2 separate regions of the Homo sapiens genome follow, and region 1 is linked to region 2. Evidence: promoter capture Hi-C in 16 types of primary human blood cells and fetal thymus (Javierre and others, 2016). All regions are on one chromosome and are shown on one strand. The core of a region is centred on a gene start or on the middle of the fragment in contact, and the rest is flanking DNA. Distances in the headings are between cores, read along the strand shown. Region 1 overlaps GALNT5 (polypeptide N-acetylgalactosaminyltransferase 5). Region 2 holds the start of ACVR1C (activin A receptor type 1C).

Region 1 (3,009 bases), core at 290-2,789, 350 kb after region 2:
TTTGACAACCCAAAGAGTGAGATTCTTCACTGTAATAAGCAAAAATGAACATAAAGGCTATGGTGGATTCTGGTTTTGAACTTTGTTGGAATCACCTCATCTCTCTTGTCCTATTGGCAATTTGTCTTCTTAACACTTAACTGAACACATCATATGCCTTGCTCTCAAGGAAGAAGCCATAAGATCTTAATTTCTTTGCCTTCCATAGAGTCTAACTGTAACTCTAGTTATTACCAGTAGGCAAGGCCTCCCGTTAATTGTGATTCCATTAAAAGGGATTTGTGCAATTGTAGAGGACATCTAAACTCCACTACTTCTAAGTGCCCATCTCCAAGGAGCCATAGTTAGATCATTCCAACATGGTAGCAGAGTTACAACTGAGACAACTAACTGAACAGAGCTCCAGATGACTTTTAACGTCCATAGATGCTTAGACTTATGTCTCTGAGGCTCCACGTAAAACAAAGCATTTGTACGATGTTTATGCTTCATCAAATTATCCTATAATTTTGCCATCCAAACTGCTACTAAACTTTGCTTCTGCCAAACTTTGAAATTTCAAGAGATAGCCTGAGTGGTTTTCTTACCTTTGGTGCTGAAGTCATCTACCAGCAGAATCTCCTTGATGAGGTGTGGAGGAGAGCGATTGATGACACTGTGAACAGATCTCAGGAGAGTGGACCACACTTCATCCACAAAGCACATGATGACACTGGTGGTTGGGAGGTTATTGTGAACTAGCTGCTCTGCACATCTGGGCCAGAATATAAGCAGAGCACAAGAGATGTGCTAAGGAGATCCACAAGATAGTTTTAAAAGTCACAGAGTGCGATGGTGTGCATATACACACACACTTAATCTGTCATCGATCTGTCTGGTCTATCTATCATCTATTTATATATACCAATGATGATTTTATTATTTATCATGTGCCTTTTTTTGGGGAGGGGTACATGCAAAATAAAAAAGCAGAAGAATTACCCGTAACCGTGGTTGTTATAAAAGGACTAGAAATGCAAGACATGAGAATGTCCCATGCAGACATCACACTGCAGTGGAAAGGACAGGGTTTACAGGTAGTTAGACTCTATTTCAAATCTCATGGCCAATATTTCTCAGGTCTTTAACCATTAATGCCTTCTTTAACTTCTCTGTGCCTCAGTTTCCTCATCTGCAGAATGAGGTAATAAATGGTTCTTATTCAATAGAGTTTTGTAGCCTAGTGATAATGTACATACAAAGCCTAGCAGGGTTCCTGGCACAGGAATTTATGAAATGGTAGTTATTGCTATCATTACTAGATTATATGCTAGAAGATAGCATTCTGACTTATTTAATGTTCCCAAGTGGTTTATGATTGCCTTTCCAACTGGCTGTCTGCCAACTGCCATGGGATTTATTCTTTTCTCCCATTCTGCTTGTGTATGTACTTATGGCATAATATATATGTGCCAAATAATTAAACTCTTTTTAGCTTCCGTATCCGGGGCTTCCTTGCTGATACTCTGCTACAGAATAGCCACAGTTGAAAAACCATTTTGCTGGCATAGGAATGCAATCCAGGCTACAGTGGGAGTTAGTATTCAGGTGGGTTGCAACTGGCCTGGGTTTTTTCCCATGCCCTGCAGAATACACTGCCTCACTGCTGGCATTCTTTCACCCCCTGCCTGTGCCACTCTTCATAAGCAGTGCCCAGTGGAACCTCACAAAATGTATTTGCCATCTTACTAACACAGCTACTGTCAGTAATGTGATAATTAATGATGATCATAAATATTATAAGCATTCTATATTATTTCAATGTCGACCTCAAATTACCAGCATCTCTTTCCCTTTTTATTGGTGAATAATCAAAATCATGGAAAGACTAGTCCATGATTCTGCAGTTAGTAAATGGCAGAGCTGGGACTCGAACACTGATCCAGTCTGGCTCCAAAAGTAACCATTGAGGAAGCCTTAGATCCACAAGAATAGAAGCAGCTGGCAGTAGATGCGACATTTTGTGAGAGCTGGCACTTCTGCCAAATAACATGGTTATACTTTACTTATTCCATAAATAAGAAATAGGTAAGAGCAAAAACGATAGTAAAGCAAATCACATTTGCATGACACTCTAGTGTTGCCAAAGTGCTATTCTGTACATAATTGAATTCAGTCTTCATAACAACTGCTTGAGATACATATTATTATACACTTCTTCAAATCTTGGGAAGTTAAATGACTTACCCACATCATCCACCTAGATAGGATATATAAGGAAATATGAACAAATAATGTTTTTACTTTACTGCTGGTTTTTTTTGTAGAATGGGCTTTGGAAATAGATATGTGCTCAAATATCAGTTTTTCTAATTACTGATTTGGAACAGCTTTACTACTTCTTTGAACCTCAATTTGCCAACTACAAAGCTGAAATTAAACATGTACCTATAAGATTACATATAAACATTATGTAAAACTCATCTAATATATATCTGACACATAGGGGGTACTTAAGAAATGGTAGACAAATCCAGCTGTGCTTCATAATTTCAATGGTTTCCTAGATGGTTGTTTATCATAATAATTGACAAAGCCTTAGAAAAACATAAATATCCAATCCTCAGCCCCAGAAAATCAATTTACAAGGTTTGCTGAGGGCCCAAGAATCCATGTCTTAAAATACAAACAAATAAAAGAAAACACAAAGAAACCAACCCACCAACAAACAAAAGAATGACTCACAAATCATTGATTGGTGAGTTTAAGAACTTGAGCTCAAGATAAAGTTAATTTATTCTTATTATTTGAGGCTAATATTAAAAAAAATAAATTGACAGCTGATAGGAGCATGTCCTAAATGTTCAAGTGACAGAGAATTAAAATAACACATTTTGATTCACTATCTTCATGTAGTGATCAGGTATCTAATGCTAACTTAAAATATCAGACTGTCTAAACTAATATTAGTCTACACTAAGGATCCATGCATTAGCACTTCTGAATAATATGAGAAGATATTCCTCTCTT
Region 2 (3,102 bases), core at 464-2,963:
ACTTGCAGAGGATGTTGCTTTAGAGACAAAATAAGTATGTGGGGAGTAAATCCCTGCCATTGTTGTAATGTGTATGGTTTAACAATGCTCTCTCATACACTACCCTTTTTGATCCTGGTCAAAGTTCTGGGAAATAGGGAGGAATTAAGTTCCATTTACTTTTGAGGAAGCAGACCCAGAAAGTTCATTACATTCTGCTATTTAGGCTCCCGGTATCATGATCTATTGGCAGATCACAATTTAAGGTGCAGTTATCAAATAATTAGCAAGCCAAACCAGACAAAATATAATGTGTCCTAGCAGTTTCTTGCCTTTTTAAAAAAGCATCTGTTTTGTGGGTGTCTGAAAGGGCTCAGATTTGTCCCACATCTCCAGTTTTTTGTTTGTTTGGATCCAGGATAAAACAAGAACAAAGTTTTTTTGTGCTTAGGAATATAAGATGGTGGCAGAAAAGATCCTCAGGATGCCACCCACATCTCAAAGTCCAACAACCATCTCATCTCCCATACTGTGATCCTTTGATAATAAAGTCAATTACATACAACATTTCACCATAGGTCTTTCATAGAACTTAGAACACCTAGCATATAATTTAGTCCTGAGCTAGGTGAAGAAGCAAGAAATGTTTTACTCTAAAGCAATTTTTATGACGCTATCACTTTTCAAGGAACCCCCAACAGTAGTAATAACACCAGTATTGTATTCTTGCTTTTTCGCGTTGTTCAGATTGAAATAATCCCATTCACTTTAATGTTCAGGCTCCATAGGTGAATTGAATTTAATTTCTATAAATTGGTAATGTTGCCGTTGTCCTTATATTTTCAGGCACAATCCAGGCCTTATATTTTCAGGCACCCGTTTGACAGTTAGCCTCTAGGGATTAAACAATACTCAAACAAGTTTTTCATATACTACTTTAAACAATTCTTCCCCTTCCCTTAATCCGTGTGTGTGTGTGTGTGTGTGTGTGTGTGTGTGTGTGTGTGTGTATGTTCCCTTAGTTCTTCAATTGCTGAAGTTGTAGCTGCCGAAATTATCTTCCATAGGTGAGGTCTTTTACCACCAGACGTGGGTCACACATTGTAGATGGCCACATCACCTGGCGCAGGTGGTCCAGCTTTGGTCGCCATTCATAGAGGGAAGGGTTCCCAAAAGGCACCCAAGAAGAGATGAAGTTTGTTAAACCAAAGCTTATAGGTCCAGAAGGCAGTCGGACAACTGGTCATTTCCAGGGATGAACAGAGAGGGCGCCCTTCCCCAGAGGCACAAATGGCCAGGACGCAGGGGTGGGACAAGCCAGTAGGAAGCCCGCGGGGCTCTCACAGCGCAACCTGGTTGGACTTAAGGACCCTGGACAACAAACGTCAGGAGAGCTAGGAGGCTGGCTCTTCTGCGGGAGGTTATAGAGCGGATCACCTGGGCGCAATCGCCGCGTAGTTGAAGTTTCCCTAAAGTCTCAGTGGGGCTTTTCCTCCCGTGAGAAGCCCCATTCCTGAGTATCTAGTCCCGGAGGCTCCGCACTGCTTCCCCACGCCCCCTCTTTCTTCGCCCCAGCTCTGGGCGATCTCACTGCCGGGCACAGGGCCGCCTTTGCCTGCCTGCCCTGCAGCAGCAGGCCCGGGCGGCTGCGAGAGGGCGCAGGGGGCGGAGGCGCGGCAGGGGCGGGCTCTGCCGCCCGCCCCACCACCCGCTCCCCGCCCGGCTGCGGGGCCAGTGGCAGGAGCGCCGCGCACCGCCAGCCGCAGGGGGCGTGGGATGGGGGCGGCCGGGGAGGGGGGCGCCCACACTGACTAGAGCCAACCGCGCACTTCAAAAGGGTGTCGGTGCCGCGCTCCCCTCCCGCGGCCCGGGAACTTCAAAGCGGGCCGTGCTGCCCCGGCTGCCTCGCTCTGCTCTGGGGCCTCGCAGCCCCGGCGCGGCCGCCTGGTGGCGATGACCCGGGCGCTCTGCTCAGCGCTCCGCCAGGCTCTCCTGCTGCTCGCAGCGGCCGCCGAGCTCTCGCCAGGTACGGTGCTGGTTTCTCTCCCGACGCCCGCGAGGGTGGGAGCTGGGAGGAGGTCTGCGGGTGAGCACGGGGGTGGGGGACAGGGGGTGCTCCGAGCAAACTGACCTTCGGGGCGGACAGGGAAGCGCCAGTCGGATTGAGGGGGCGCGGGATAGGGTGCAGCGTGGGCACCTGACGTCTGGCAGCCGTAGGGGTAGACAGGTGTGTTGGGGACGAAGCCGCCCGGAAGAGGGAAAAGGCAGCAGGGACGTGGGGGAATAAGTAGTAGGGGTGAGGTGGGTGACTAATTTGTGGGCAGTTTGCAGCGGAGAAAATAGGAGAGCGTTTGTGGGTGCGCGCATGGCTGGGAGCTGGGTTCACCCTGCAGGGACCTGGAGGGCTGCAGGTATGCGTCGGACGCGCTCTGTGCTAAGCCCCTGAGAGCTGCTCAAGGATGGTGGCATGGTGGTGGTGGGAGGTGGTGATTTAGTCTGAGTTTTAGGAGGCGGGGAATACCCCAAAAGCCGCAGATGCCAAGCTATGGAGGCGAGAGTGGGAGCTTAAATCTGTGTGGTTTGCAACGCACATTGCTTTCGAGGTACGATCTTTACTCAGAGTTCCTGGGGAAAAAAATTCTGGCAAGCGCCCCAGAGTTTATAACAGGTCTGTGCCTTGATAGGCTAAATAGAGCCCTCTACCCAATCTAGAAGCCAGACGTTTCTTTATAATGTTTACTAGAAAGTGGGGCAAATGCATCTTTGGTAAAATCATAATATGCTGTGACTAAAAGCCCTTTACCTCGAAAACTATTTTCATTACATTGTCCTGGATTATGCAGAGGAGGAGCAGATTCTTTGCTAACTCATTCTTTAAAAATTTCTATCAGACATTGAAGACATTTGCACATAAAAATCTGGTGTTTTCCCATAGAGCTGTGTTTTGTCCGAAGCTGATTTTGATGCATTTTGTTTTCCCAGATGACAATCTGTTTGACATTAATAGCTATATTCATGGTGGGTCGTTTTCCTCTTAGTGACATGTGCAAGAGAATGATTTGAATGATATGATTGCTGTCATGTACAGATTTCAGTGTTTCAGATGGCCTGAGAGAATCACTA

What was found. The method cuts DNA at HindIII sites, captures the fragments that hold promoters and counts their contacts. A CHiCAGO score of 5 or more calls a contact.
Region 1: a contact is called between a fragment that was not itself captured here and the fragment with the promoter of ACVR1C in region 2, in 1 of 17 cell types (total CD4 T cells). The highest score is 5.4, in total CD4 T cells.

What each region holds. Positions count from the first base shown.
Region 1 is chr2:157,282,027-157,285,035 of GRCh38, reverse strand. GALNT5 (polypeptide N-acetylgalactosaminyltransferase 5) reads right to left here. Exons shown (of 10, transcript NM_014568.3): 2 at 588-754. Among named protein-coding and RNA genes, the nearest start is that of GALNT5, 26 kb to the right of the region's middle. The HindIII fragment of the contact is 3,733 bases long and covers 1-3,009 here.
Region 2 is chr2:157,627,475-157,630,576 of GRCh38, reverse strand. ACVR1C (activin A receptor type 1C) reads left to right here and starts at 1,713. Exons shown (of 9, transcript NM_145259.3): 1 at 1,713-2,005. The coding sequence starts at 1,933. RefSeq lists a silencer at 1,769-1,998. The HindIII fragment of the contact is 11,498 bases long and covers 1,193-3,102 here.